Linked DNA regions of Homo sapiens: all the other regions are linked to region 4. The links are contacts of gene promoters, found by promoter capture Hi-C in human tissues and cell types (Jung and others, 2019). All regions are on one chromosome and are shown on one strand. Each heading gives the region's core, a stretch centred on a gene start or on the middle of the fragment in contact. The rest is flanking DNA. Distances are from core to core; before and after follow the strand shown. Region 1 overlaps LINC01983 (long intergenic non-protein coding RNA 1983). Region 2 overlaps XXYLT1 (xyloside xylosyltransferase 1). Region 3 overlaps ACAP2 (ArfGAP with coiled-coil, ankyrin repeat and PH domains 2). Region 4 holds the start of APOD (apolipoprotein D). Region 5 overlaps ACAP2 (ArfGAP with coiled-coil, ankyrin repeat and PH domains 2).

What was found. Contacts are between HindIII fragments. The study calls those that stand out against the background at their distance.
Region 1: a fragment that was not itself captured here is called in contact with the fragment with the promoter of APOD in region 4 in 2 of the 25 tissues and cell types used here (H1 embryonic stem cells and lymphoblastoid cells).
Region 2: a fragment that was not itself captured here is called in contact with the fragment with the promoter of APOD in region 4 in 2 of the 25 tissues and cell types used here (spleen and thymus).
Region 3: a contact is called between a fragment that was not itself captured here and the fragment with the promoter of APOD in region 4, in 2 of the 25 tissues and cell types used here (lymphoblastoid cells and spleen).
Region 5: a fragment that was not itself captured here is called in contact with the fragment with the promoter of APOD in region 4 in 2 of the 25 tissues and cell types used here (dorsolateral prefrontal cortex and spleen).

What each region holds. Positions count from the first base shown.
Region 1 is chr3:195,843,791-195,846,490 of GRCh38, forward strand. All of the region lies in intron 1 of LINC01983 (long intergenic non-protein coding RNA 1983), which reads right to left. All of the region lies in intron 1 of LOC107984010 (a long non-coding RNA gene), which reads right to left. It also overlaps the pseudogene KIF3AP1. Among named protein-coding and RNA genes, the nearest start is that of LINC01983, 15 kb to the right of the region's middle. The HindIII fragment of the contact is 9,125 bases long and covers 1-2,700 here.
Region 2 is chr3:195,112,857-195,115,556 of GRCh38, forward strand. The region is part of intron 3 of XXYLT1 (xyloside xylosyltransferase 1); the gene reads right to left. Among named protein-coding and RNA genes, the nearest start is that of XXYLT1-AS1, 20 kb to the left of the region's middle. The HindIII fragment of the contact is 3,156 bases long and covers 1-2,700 here.
Region 3 is chr3:195,280,537-195,283,402 of GRCh38, forward strand. All of the region lies in intron 22 of ACAP2 (ArfGAP with coiled-coil, ankyrin repeat and PH domains 2), which reads right to left. Among named protein-coding and RNA genes, the nearest start is that of XXYLT1, 11 kb to the left of the region's middle. The HindIII fragment of the contact is 4,996 bases long and covers 1-2,866 here.
Region 4 is chr3:195,582,650-195,585,349 of GRCh38, forward strand. APOD (apolipoprotein D) reads right to left here and starts at 1,291. Exons shown (of 5, transcript NM_001647.4): 1 at 1,229-1,291. RefSeq lists an enhancer at 742-911. The HindIII fragment of the contact is 4,834 bases long and covers 811-2,700 here.
Region 5 is chr3:195,301,952-195,304,651 of GRCh38, forward strand. It overlaps ACAP2 (ArfGAP with coiled-coil, ankyrin repeat and PH domains 2), which reads right to left. Exons shown (of 23, transcript NM_012287.6): 14 at 15-223. Among named protein-coding and RNA genes, the nearest start is that of XXYLT1, 32 kb to the left of the region's middle. The HindIII fragment of the contact is 3,704 bases long and covers 1-2,700 here.

The DNA of each region.
Region 1 (2,700 bases), core at 20-2,519, 260 kb after region 4:
CCTGACCAACATGGTGAAACCCCGTCTTTACTAAAAATACAAAATTAGCCAGGCGTGGTGGTGGGCACCTGTCATCCCAGCTACTCGGGAGGCTGAGGCAGGTGGATGGCTTAGAACCCAGGAGGTGGAGGTTGGAGTGAGCTGATATCGCGCCACTGCACTCCAGCCTAGGCAACCAAGCAAGACTGTCTCCAAAAAAAAGTATTAAAAATAAAGCTAGATTTAATGAAGATCTGAAGGATGCTTTGCTTCATCAATTTCAGAAAGAAATAGAAGACCTGAAAAAGAAGCTCACAGAAGGGGAAGAAATATCAGGCTGTGATGTCAGTGGGTCGGACGGAGATGACAATGAAGAGGGTAAGATTGGAGAAGATGAAGAGAAAAGGAAAAAAGGGGGAAATAAAGTCTTCCCAGAGAGGACGGTTGAAACGCCGGCGACAGCGGATGCGGAGAGAAAGGCACTTGAAACAAAGCTTGACGTGGAAGAAGAAACAAGGCTGCAGCTAAATTCGAGAAACAGGAAAAAAGATCTTAAAACCCAACAAGAGCATCAGTCTTTGCCAGAAAAGTTCTCTGCCCTGGAGAAGAAGGTAATTGTTGGTGGCGTTGATTTGTTGGCCAAAGCCGAGGAACGAGAGAAACTTCTTGAAGAATCTCATACAGAGCTGGAAGAAAGGAGGAAAAGAGCAGAGCAACTTTGCAGAGAACTTGAGGGAAAAAGGTAAGAAGGCTTGGAAACTGAAGGAAAATAGACCAGTTTGCAAGAGGAACCACAGGGAAAGACCGAGATCTTAAAGAAAGTTTGGGCCGGGCGCAGCGGCTCACACCTGTAATCCCAGCACTGTGGGAGGCCGAGGTAGGAGGATCTCGAGGTCAAGAGCTCGAGACCAGCCTGGCCAACATCGTGAAACCCCGTCTCTACTAAAAAAGGAGGCTTGGTAGAGTTACTGGTTTATAGTGTGTTCTTTAAGAATCCTTATGTTGCCTATACCAATAGTTAGGGTGTTAAAATGTAATCGTATTCTCTGTTTGTGTTTAGATTATTATAAAGTAGAAATGTAATAAGGCGAGGAGGTTGCATCACACACTTGCCCCATGAATGGAATCCATTCCATATGCTATTTCATTCACTTTCTGGAGAAAGGGGAATTTTTTTGCAGCAAAAATTTCAGGTGACTTTGTGGTAGGGGGCGGTGCTACTTCATCTGTAACATATTTTTAAAACCATGATTATGCTTTGGGTTTTTTGTTTTTTTTTTCTTTTTGCTTTGCTTCTGTTTCTTTTTAGTCTGTTTTTAATATCCTTCCCCTTCACTTTAATCTCAAGGAAAGTCCTCTTTCCTGCAGGGCTGTGAATTAAAGAATGGGCAGAGTTTACGTTTAAGTAAGCCAGTGTCTGCTCAATTTCCTAATGTACACATTTGTTTTCTTTTTAATTATTCCTTGTTCTTAAAAATACTAGGAGAGGCCGGGCACAGTGGCTCATGCCTGTAATCCCAGCACTTTGGGGGGCCGAGGTAGGTGGATCACCTGAGGTCAGGAGTTCAAGACCAGCCTGAACAACATGGTGAAACCCCGTCTCTACTACAATTACGAAATTAGCCGGGCGTGGTGGTGCATGCCTGTAATCCCAGCTACTTGGGAGGCTGAGGCAGGAGAATTGCTTGAACCCGGAAGGCAGAGGTTGTGGTGAGCCGAGATCGTGCCATTACACTCCAGCCTGGGCAACAAGAGTGAAACTCCGTCTCAACAAAAACAAAAACAAAAATCCTAGAAGAATAGAAGAAAACATAGATCTTTTTCTTTCTTTCTCATTCTTTCGTTCTTTCTTTCTTCTCTCTCCTTCCTCCCTCCCTCACTCTTTTTCTTTCTTTCTTTCTCTTTCTTTCTTTCTTTCCTTTCTTTCTCCATCCTTCCTCCCTTCCTCCCTCTTTCTCGCTTGCTCTCTCTCTTTCTCTCTTTATCTCTTTCTTTCTTTCTTGTTCTCACTTTGTCACCCAGGCTAGAGTGCAGTGGTGCAATCCCCACTCACTGCAGCTTCAACCTCCTGAGGTTCAAGCGATCCCCCTGCCTCAGTCCCCCAAGTCTGAGACTACAGGCATGCACCACCTCTTCAGGCCAATTTTTGTATTTTTTGTAGAGATGCATTTTTACCATGTTGCCCAGGCTGGGAAAACATAGATTTTCTAGTGCCCTTAAACTTATGATGTAATCTAACTCATTTAAATAATTAATAACTTCAGCAGTATTACTGCAATACTGTATACTGGCCAAAATTACAAAGTGAAGAGTAAGTCAGCTGCATCAATTTCAAAAGGCATGCTTTCATTGTACTTTATGTATAAATTGTATCTGTTCAAGTTGTATATATTGATATTGTTGTATATATGCAGCATGGTTAAATAAGAATAACAATTTTTTACCTAAAAAAAAAAAATAAATGGAAATAGCAGTAATCCTGGACCAGAGGAGAGCACTGGATCTCAACCTAGAATGGAGGCCCTCCTACAGACACCCTGGCCTGTGAGGGAGCAGGGCCCAGGGTAGGGGACCCAGGAGGTCTGGCCGTGCAGATCGATTATGGAAGCTGTGAACAGTGGAGAAGAGTTATGCTTTGTTATTTTGTTTTGCTTTGGCAAATGTAACTAGGACAAAAATTGTCCTTCTTTCCCTAGGCAGCTATGGGAAATTCTGGCTTTG
Region 2 (2,700 bases), core at 98-2,597, 470 kb before region 4:
GCACACACATGCATGCACACATGTGCGCACATACACGCAGCCCCCAGCCTCCAGCCCCAGGTGGTGGGAACAGCTGGATGAAGCAGTCAAGAGAACATGGGTTTCAAAATCCAATCTGGGTTTCAACTGCAGCCATGCCCCTCACTCGCCGTGCCATCCCAGGCAAGCTGTTGCTCTTCTTTGAGCTTCAGCTTCCTCCCAGATAGGAACATTAATCCATACCCAGAGGCTGTGTGAAGATTAAACAGCATTTCATATGAGGAGCCCTCGCACAGAGCCTGGCAAGAGCCACTCCTTGGTCCGTGGACCTTCCCGTCTTTTCTCCCTTCCACAGTAAGGATGGAGCCGCCTCAGGAAAACATCTCCCACTGATTTCGCCGCAACTGCAGGATGGAAACGGAGGTGAACATCTGGCGGGAGCTCGGAAAAACGCCAGTTTCTGACACTATCTTCGACAAGCCAGGGAGTTGGGAAAGCTTGGGAGGGGAGTGGTGCACTAACGTATATTAACACTTACTACGAGGCAGGCACCGTTCCAAGAAGCTGACATGTTTTCAAGAATCTTAATTCTCAGAACATCCCTGATTAGGTAGTACGCTTATCCTTAACATAGGGGGAAACTGAGGCACAAAGCGGTTTACTGGTTTGTCCAAGGTCACAGGGCTATTAAATAGTGGAGCCAGGACCTGAACCCAGGCAGTGTGAACCCAGCACTCACGGTCTTTTTTGTTAGAATCCTTTTTCTCTTTAATCAGTTTTGGATTTCCCCTCTGTTTCATGAGCTTTTTGCTTTACTTTTTAGCCATTCATTCCACAAACACCTACTCGGAGCCAGGCCTGGGAATGCCGAGCTTGGCTGAGGGAGCCTGCACAGCACCCACAGGACCAGGCAAAGAGGCGGAAAGGGGTGTGGCCAGGAGAAAGGGTTGTGGCCAGGAGAAAAGGGTGGAAAGGAGCCCTGGGCATTCTGATAGTGCCAGAGGGTGCTCCTGAGGCCGGCGGGCAAAGAATGCTATGAAGAAGGGGTGTCTGAGTTGGCCATGAATGACAGAGAGGATTTCTCAAGGTAGAGATGGGTGAAGAGAAGTCCCTCCAGGTGGCAGGAACAGTGCAAGCAAAGATAAGCAGGTGAAAGCTTGGCACAGCATCTGGGAGCCATGAGTGCCCAATTTGGCTAGAGCGTACTGAGTCAGTGCCAGGTCACAAACGCCTTGAGTGCCAGACCCCTGGGTTGAAGATTCTGAATGCATTCCAAGATTCAATTAAGGAAGCAGGATGATCTGCCCATGATTTTGCCCACTTATGGTGGCAGCCAATCATCCTGCAACAACTGTGCCCCAGTCCACACGCTTCCAGGGAAAGCTGCATTGGGTGGCCCCCTTCTCGCTCCTCCACGTGAAGCCCTGAACTCAGCTGCCCAAATTTGTTTCTCCACAAAGTACAGCCACACCATTGCACCCAAAATGGAGGATCTGAGGGGCCAAGGAATGACTACTGCCTGGAGAGCCGGGAGACACGGAGCATCACCTTCCACCTGCGTTGAGCTTCTTTTCATTTCACTCCATGTACTAAATAAGCCATTTTGAGCACCTGCTCTGTGTACGGTCCTGTGCCTGGGTCCCATGAGACCCAAATCATTGTCATTTCTCTAGCACTTGAAACACATCTGTCCCCCTACACCCACAATCACATTATACAACCATGTCATCAACAAGTACATTTCTACTAAAAAGTTCCTGCTCATGACAGTGCTGGGAGGACATCTCTTTACACGTTTAATTACGAAGACCAGGACCAGACATGAAATCCTAATGACCCAAATGAACAGCACTTGATGTAGAAGGCAGCGCGGCTTTGCCCACATTCCCTGAACCTCTGTCAAGCTTGTGACAAGCTTTCGTCAATCAGACGAAACTAAGTGAAAAAGCAATCGCTTTTGGAGCACGCAGGAAGGTAGCAGTCTTACAGGCTTAGAAAACCAGGGAGGAGTGAAGCCGCTCAGTGGTCTCCCTGCCGGTGCAAGGAGGCTGCCACCTGCAGAAGGTGCTAACGCCAAGTGTGGGAAGACACCGGGGTCGGCCTGGGCGCAGTCACTCCTGGGTGGAGGCTGAGCTTGGGAGTGTGAATGCCGCAGGCCCCACCCGTTCCACTCGTCAAAATCGTACCTAGCTGAGGTTGCACAGTTGGCTCCTCCCAAACCTCCCGTTGATCCTCCTCCTATTGAGAGGTTGGAACGAGGGAAACTAAGCTTCCCAGATGCCCAAACGGCGAGAGCTCGGGACGTGAATCAGGTGCTGCGACTCGGGAACTAGTGTGCTCACATGAGACGTGCCCGGTGAGAATGTGGCTTCTGGCTGTCACTGCTGGTTAGACGGTCCCAGTCACCTTGAACCCAGGTCGTGCTGCCGCTTCCTGAGTACCAGAAAAGCAGGGCAGTGGTGGTGATTTCTGTCCAAACTCCATAATCCTCAGACCTCAACTTAGACTGTTCATCCTTCAGCCTCCTAGAGAGTCCAGGAATGGCTGTGGGCTGGCAACAGCTGCTTCTGAACTAGCCAGGAGTCCTTCAAAAGGCCCAGCCGGAAACCTGCCCCTTGAGCCCCTCCAACAATGTTGTAAGCACCTAATTCCAACAAGAAACTCCTTCTGCTTACACCACCTGGAGTGGTTTCTGCTTCCTACGCGATCCCTGGTTGATAA
Region 3 (2,866 bases), core at 321-2,820, 300 kb before region 4:
TTGTTTTACTGCAGGTCATATGAGCAAGAATGCTATGACAAAATGCAAATAAATACCAAGGACATCTGTTAAATTAGAAAAATAAACGTGTATATGTACAAATATGTTTACCGAGAAATAGATTATAGATACTGATATTATAGCTGACTGAATACCATTTTTCTTGTCATGAGAAACTAAATATACACACACATACAGATCAATCCCTCAGACGAAGGAATCTTATTTTCAAGATAAATCGTTGATCATGAATGCTTCCTGCTAAACATTAGCCTTATACAAATGCTTGGCATAATTCTGTTCTCAAGATTTCAACCATAAAATACTGTTTTTGATTATTATTGTAACATTTTAAAATTATCTCCTATAAGATACCTTGCATCCACCTTATAACACACTCATTGCTACAGATGTTGTTAATAGTGCAGTAAGTTTTGTCAGTTTTTAAAAAGTGAGATTTTTGAAGCAAGAGATGTCATACCAAAAGCTAGAGAATTAGAAAAAAGTTGAGGATAGGAGTAAAGATCTAGTAAAAAGGTCTAACAGCATAAGCCAAGATTTTGAATTAAAAAAATGTTAATACTTTTGGCCCGGCCGGGTGGCTCACGCCTCTAATCCCAGCACTTTGAGAGGCCGAGACGGGCGGATCACGAGGTCAGGAGATGGAGACCATCCTGGCTAACACGGTGAAACCCCGTCTCTATTAAAAATACAAAAAATTAGCCGGGCGTGGTGGTGGGCGCCTGTAGTCCCAGCTACTCGGGAGGCCAAGGCATGAGAATGGTGTGAACCCGGGAGGCAGAGCTTGCAGTGAGCCAAGATCGCGCCACTGCACTCCAGCCTGGGCAACAGAGCGAGACTCCGCCTCAAAAAAAGAAAAAAAAGGAAAAAAAATCTAATACTTTCTAGTCACTTTTTGTATTTAGTCTAGGTAAAAAGCAACTATTAACATCTCTATATAGTTTTCATTTAGCCCTGGAAATTTATTCCCGACCTGAATCAATCAATTAAACCTCATCAGTCTACTTTAAAAAGAAAAAAACAGTAAGAAGAGATTATTAACAGGTGGCTGAGAGTAACATCTAACTCATATTGACATGACTAAAATAAAAGGTTGATACGTTGGAACAGCTGGTAAGACAATCCAATTATACCCATGGTTTTGTAAAAGTTCACTTCCACATCAAAAGACAAACATTGCTATTCTCATTTTAACCATTCTAAAAGATAGAAAATAAATAGAGCAACATTAAATAGCAACAAACCATATAAAATATTTTTTCTAATTTGCAGATGTTGAATTAAAATATGTAAAATATTTATTGTAAACATTATAAATATTTTTAAAAGACTATTTAAACTGGATAGTCTGGAATTTTCCTTTCCAAGAAAGTGTAAAGTGCAGAGTATAATACAAAAATACCACAAAGATTTTACCATTCAACACTAGAAGTAACTTAAAAGGCACACATTATACATTCAAGAAGAAATAGGAAGAAGGGTCTAGCAGACGTTAATACCAAATAGTCTACAGGTAGCACCAGATGAGCACTGTTAAGTATTACAACAGTACAATGGCAATATATGGCTTCTACTATTAGCAATGCATATTTTGTATAACAAGCTATGGAACTTTTTAAATGGTTTCTCCGGTTTTGTTTTTAAATCATCTAGTACCTATTACACAAGTATATTTTAGTAGAACCATTGTACCATGCAAAACAAATTATAAGACTCAAATGCTTCCTTGAATGAAAGTGTTGGTGCTATAATAATCATTGGTTTCACTGACTGAATACATTTAAAAAGTGTTAATATAATACAAAAGGAAGTTGCCACCTTCACATACACACAAAACTTTTTGTTAACATTTAGTTTCTAACAAAACATTAATTAATGCACTGTTAATGTACTACCTTTCTTAGATCTCAAAATGTGTTGTCAAAAGCAAATGTTACAAGAACAATAGTGACCAAGATATTTAATACAGCTAACACAAATTGAACTTCAATGTGATTTTTTAATATTTAAATATAATTTTGATTACTTAGAATTTTTCCCAAGGCAAATATAATTTGTCTACATTGGAACACATAAACAACAACCCAGAATATGCTGCCATGGAATGTTCCCAGAAATACATTTAACAGTTTATTATAAATGGTAAACAACTCATCACTCAACATTTATAATACTAAGCATATTCTTTAAACTTAACCACATTCTATTTCCCCTCAGACAGTTAACTTTTCTATGTGCCTGGACAGCTCTAAGTTTTTAAAATGCAGACTGCTGTGTTTCCACTGACAGTTTAAATTCACTTTTAATTTTTGGTATTCAGAATATCTACCACAACAGCAGTTATGATGATTCAAGAGTTTGCTAATTTTGCTCTTGAAATGTACTCCCCTCACCTCACAGGGACGGCAGCACATGAGACCCACCCCAGGTCATCCTATGCACGACCTTACCCCTTCTGGGTGGGTAACAGCTTACTTTCATAATTACTTAGATCAGCGATTCCCAACTTGTGCTTGCTACATACTCACATAACCAGTAGCGGGTCCCTAAAGCAGTGATGATTCTCAACTGGCTGAGAGCCTGCCAACGATCAAGAAGAGTCACAGAGCCAGAGACTGTGGGAACCACCAAACCGGTTTCCAACAACTGAGAGAAGAGTGTGCTGTTTCCCTCACCCACCCATGTCTCCTAAGGGCTACTGGGACTGCCAAAGAGAGACACACCTTCTTTTGAAGAAAACGTGTGCTCTCAATCACCCCACGCAAGAAACAGGGAGTCCCAGGTCCCTAGGGTTGTACAGATAGAAAGTTCACAAGTGGGGTTTCCTAGAAATAAATCAGTGATT
Region 4 (2,700 bases), core at 41-2,540:
GATAATTGCTTGAACATGGGAGGCAGAGGTTGCAGTAAGCCAAGATCACACCATTGCACTCTAGCTTGGGCAACAGAGCAAAAACTCCATCTCAAAAAAACAAAACAAAAACAAACAAACAAAAAATACAAAAATTAGCTGGGCATGGTGGTGCAGTCCTGTAATCCCAGCTACTTGGGAGGCTGAGGCACAAGAATGGCTTGAACCTGGGAGGCGGAGGCTGTAGTGAGCCGAGATCGCGCCACTGCACTCCAGCCTGGGTGACAGAGTGAGACTCCGTCTCAAAAAAAAAAAAAAAGAAATATGATTTTTAACAGAATATGAGGTAATTAAAAAGCAATCCAACTAAGGTGACAGTGCATCCACCTTGGGCCTGGCACTAGCTGGAAATCACTGCTCCACTTGCATTAAGCTTACCCGTGGAGAAGCCCTGGTCCCAGGATTTTAAGGGTGCTATGCGCTCAGTCTCCACAGCACCTCCTCTGGAGGCGACCTCTGCTGACACTCTCTTCATACCAACGAGGTGAATTTGCCCGGGTTACTTCCTGGTAAACTACGAAGCCACAGTGTAAGCCTAGGCCTGGGGACAGGCTAGAATGTAAGCCTAGGTCTCCCACAAGCCCGCGCTCTTAGTGCCTGGGGACACAGCCCCTGACCTCAAAGATCTGCAGAACGTGAAGGACTAGATTTTGAAATTTCACCTCATAAAATAAAATAGGTTCCAATAAGTCATTAGGTCTCAAAGACTCATTTAGCCATTAAATATAACAAGACACGTATCTCCCAAACACAATATTTTATGCCATATTGTCAAATGCATTTTCTAGTCACACCATTAATTCCAGTTTCCAGATTATTTTACTGCGATGCACCGTTGGACAGCTTGCTGAGAATTCACCTAGGACGGTGTTTGTGCATGGAAACACCTCGTTGTCCAGTTTGGAGGGGTAAGCAAAAGACGCTGGGATGAGTTCACACTGGGTTTGGTTTTATCTTAGGCATGTTGCTAGTGTATCTGAACCTCAGCTTTATCACTGGAAAAATGGCTCTGATGATACCTACCTTGTACATTTGTTTGAGGAAAAATGAGAACAAGTCTAAAGCTACCGGCACAAGCTCTCAATCAGTGGTAGTTATATGTAGCTGAAATGGGGCAATGGAGAGTCTAGACTGTTTCTATTTTAGACATTATTATCATAAATGAAAAGCTTAAAACTACAGTACATACCTTTTCTTTCAAGATGAAGGCAGTTTCCAGATGCAGAATCAGCCGATTTGAGATGCCTGTCTTGGTGACTGGCCTCTCCCAAGCTATTTTATAAGCTTCTTCAGGTCTCTGATGTTTACTTTTCATGCATGCCACGCCCGCCGCCCCCATCCAGTCAGGAGGGTTGGCCTAAAAGCTTAGTCTGTATCGAAACACAAAGATGGGATGTTGTGTCCATCCTCCTCCCCCGATTTCCTTCACAGCTGCTCCCTGAAGAAGAAATGAGATATTGTTTTCGCGCGCGCGTGTGTGTGTGTGTGTGTGTGTGTGGGTATGTGTGCGAGAGAGAGAGAGAGTATGTGTGAGAGAAAGATAAAGTATATTTTCATCCAAAACATTTTTTTTTTTGCTATGTGGATTTTCTAATTTAATTTTTTTGGTCAGAATGCACTTTTAAGTTCCAGCAGGACGTGTTGCAACATGTTTTCAAACATCTGGTATTTATTTTTCATTTTTGTGTAAATGAAAAATCAACAAGCTCATTTCCTGAAGTGGAACATGGAGTTCCTGACTCCACTAATGGGAGTCAGGTAATGGCGCGAGGGTTATGAGTCAAAGCTGGCTTTCTCCAGGATCCTGGGCAGCCCCCTAACTTCTCTGAGCCACAGTCTCCTCGTTGTAAGTAGGGGCTGTCATTCTTTCTCCACCAGAGCCAGACGTGTAGGGGAGATACCAGTTCTCTAACAACTGGGGCTAAAAGTTGAGAATGCAGAAGACATCTTCTGTCGCTCTGTTCTCTGTCCCTTTTATGACCCTTGCAGCGAGAAGTTCAAGACAGTCTGTCACTGCTTGGGGGTGGGGGCCGGGGTGGTGGGGAGTGTGGACTTAAACCCAGGGGTGCTTTTGGTCCAGCCTTATCTCTCCTGGTGGAATGAACAACTTTGACTCTTGTGAGTGAGATTCTATGTCTTTGTGATAGGCAGGAGGTATGTTTAGAGACATTTAGATAAGGCAGTGCCTTCGTAGTAGACTTAGACTCCTAAATGAAATTCATTCTAAAATATGTAAGCAACAGAGATACATTTACAGCACTGAGTCTATAAACATGAAAACAACAACACAGATCCGTAACATCCCAAACGTTGTGAGCGCTTTCTTTAAGATGTTCTTTGCCTTTTCAGAAACATAAGAAATTCCTACTACCACCCAGGGCCTGCCTCTCGCTGACCTCCTGTGCTGCCCTCCCCTAAGAGCTCTGTGTAGCTCCCTTCCCCACTCCAGGTCCCTGATCAGATGACACTTTTCCCTAAAAAGCTTCCTGACCTTTCAAAAATAGCACTCTTGTCACTGTCCCTTTCCCTGCTTCATTATATCTTTACCTGAAATTCTCTCCTTTATTTATACATTATCCTGCTTAGTATGTTTTCCCCAGGAGGATAGGAGCTTGAGGCGTGCCAGGAGTTTGTCTCTTTGACTCTGTGTTGTGCCCCAGT
Region 5 (2,700 bases), core at 95-2,594, 280 kb before region 4:
GCAGGCCTACCCACCGGTGAATTCCGGAGCACTCGATACACAAGGTGATGCCCAGGTTGATGCTGGCCCACCGTGGATCTGCCAGGCCACAGTCACAACAGCTGGCATTGCCAGGGATACACTGGACCCGCTGAAGCGCACTTTCTCCTTTCAATAATTTCTCTTTGGACTCATTTCCAGAATCTAGGCTTCCTGTGGATGGAGATGATTTCTTATCCAGCTTCTAAAAGAATTAAGAATTACTTGTTTTTAAAAAAAAAAAAGATTGAAATACTTTGTTGCACACTACATGCTCCAAACTAAAGCTTCCAATCAATAAATTAAAGGCCTGTTACAGGCATAAGCAAGGCAATAGTCTAGCTAGAAATTCAAGGATAAAAAGATGTAGGTTCTTCCATCAGTGAGCTTTTATTCCAGTGGGGAGAAACGTGTAAACATTTAAAATTATATATAATAAATGACACAATGAACATATGTACAAAAGATGAAGACAGAAAGGGAACACTAGTCTAACATGCAGGGTGGAGACAGAGGAAATAGGTAAGGGATTATTCAAACTCAAGAATGAAATAAATATTATTGTTTTATACCACACTTTTCCAAGGCGTTCAATAAACTTTAAGCTAGTCATTGTTTTTTTTTTCAGACCTCTCAGGGATAAGGCAAGTTAATTACTGCAGTGAGTAACTAGGAAAGGTATGAGCTTATATAAATAGTAAAGAAGAGATCAACTACAAAATTATAACTACAGAGTGAATCAAATATAGAACATACAATGTTTAAAACTTCAAGGGATATTAGGTAAAAGAGAAGAAAAGCAAAAGATGGCTGATTAACAAAAAGTTAATTTTTTGGCCGAGAGCGGTGTCACCCCTGTAATCCCAGCACTTTAGGAAGCTGAAGCGGGAGGACCACTTGGGTCCAGGTGTTCAAGATCAGCCTGGGCAACAGAGCAAGAGCCTGTCTCTAAAAAAGAATATGTCTGGGCACAATGGCTCATGTCTGTAATCCCAACACTTTGGGAGGCTGAGGCGGGTGGATCACTTTAGGCCAGGAGTTCAAGACCAGCCTGGCCAACACAGTGAAACCCTGTCTCTACTAAAAATACAAAAAAATTAGCTGGGCGTGGTGGCGCACACCTGTGATCCCAGCTACTCAGGAGGCTGAGACATGAGAATAGCTTAAACCCAGGAAACGGAGGTTGCAGTGAGCCAAGATCATGTTGACAAGAGTGAGACTCCAACCTGGGTGACAGAGTGAGACTCCGTCATATGAGCGTAAATACATACATACATACAAACATACAAATTAGCTAGGCATGGTGATGCACACCTGTGGTCCCAGCTACTCAGAAGGCTGAGGCATGAGAATTGCTTAAACCCGGGAGGGGGCTATTGTAGTAAGCCAAGATCATGCCACCGCACTCCAGCCTGGGTGACAGAGTGAGACTCCATCATATGTACATAAATACATACATACATACAAATTAGCTAGGCATGGTGGTGCACACCTGTGGTCCCAGCTACTCAGAAGGCTGAGGCATGAGAATCACTTAAACCCAGGAGGCAGAGGTTGCAGTGAGCCAAGATCATGACACCGTACTCCAGCCTGGGTGACAGAGTGAGACTCCATCATATGTACATAAATACATACATACATACAAACAAATAAGCTAGACATGGTGGTAAGCACCTGTGGTCCCAGCTACTCAGGAGACTGAGGTAGGAGGACTGCTTGAGCCCAGGAGGTCAAGGCTGCAGTGAACTATGATCACACCACTGCATTCCAGCCTGGGAAACAGGGCAAGACTCTGTCTCCCCGCCATCCTGCTACATGGCCATAATGACCGAATACAAAGATGTGGTACTTAGATCCTAAACAATGACAGATATGGTCTATAAAAAGTCTTCTGGTTTAAAAACATTTCAGGTCAGGCAAAGTAGCTCATGCCTGTAATCTCAGCACTTTGGGAAGCCGAGGTGAGTGGATCACAAGGTCAGGAGTTCGAGAGCAGCCTGGCCAATATGGTGAAACCCTGTCTCTACTAAAAATACAAAAAAAAATTAGCCGGGCATGGTGGTACATGCCTGTAATCCTAGCTACTAGGGAGGCTGAGGCAGCAGAATCGCTTGAACCTGGGAGGTGGAAGTTGCAGTGAGCTGAGACCGTGCCCCTGCACACCAGCCTGGGCAATGGAGTGAGACTCCATCTCAAAAAAAAAAAAAAAAAAAAAAAAAAAAAAAACTTCCCTGTAAGTTTAGGATTATTCCGAAATTTTAAGAAAGAAATATTTGTTTTACCAGAATATGTTCGATAATGGGAATTAGCAATTATGTAAGGAAAGAATATCAATATTATATTACAGAAATCATGTTGGTTCATTCCCAAGTTTTCTCTATATGCTAATGTTTTTGCACCAAATTAGAGAACTAAGTACACAAACACAGCAAAACTTGGGTCAGCCACTTCAAGGAACACAGCACTGAATATGACACCAATTCACGAAAGTATTAATAGGAGGAATGATTGTTTAAGCAGGACAGTTCAATCCTACTGTCGCTGCCCCCCATCTCCATGCCACTAGGGGATGACTGCTCTCTACACAAACACAATGACTGGAAGTTATTCTCTGGAGGATTAAAACAGAGTCTCTGAATCGACTTCACCTGAAAGGTGGAAGCCAGAGGATTAAATGAACAT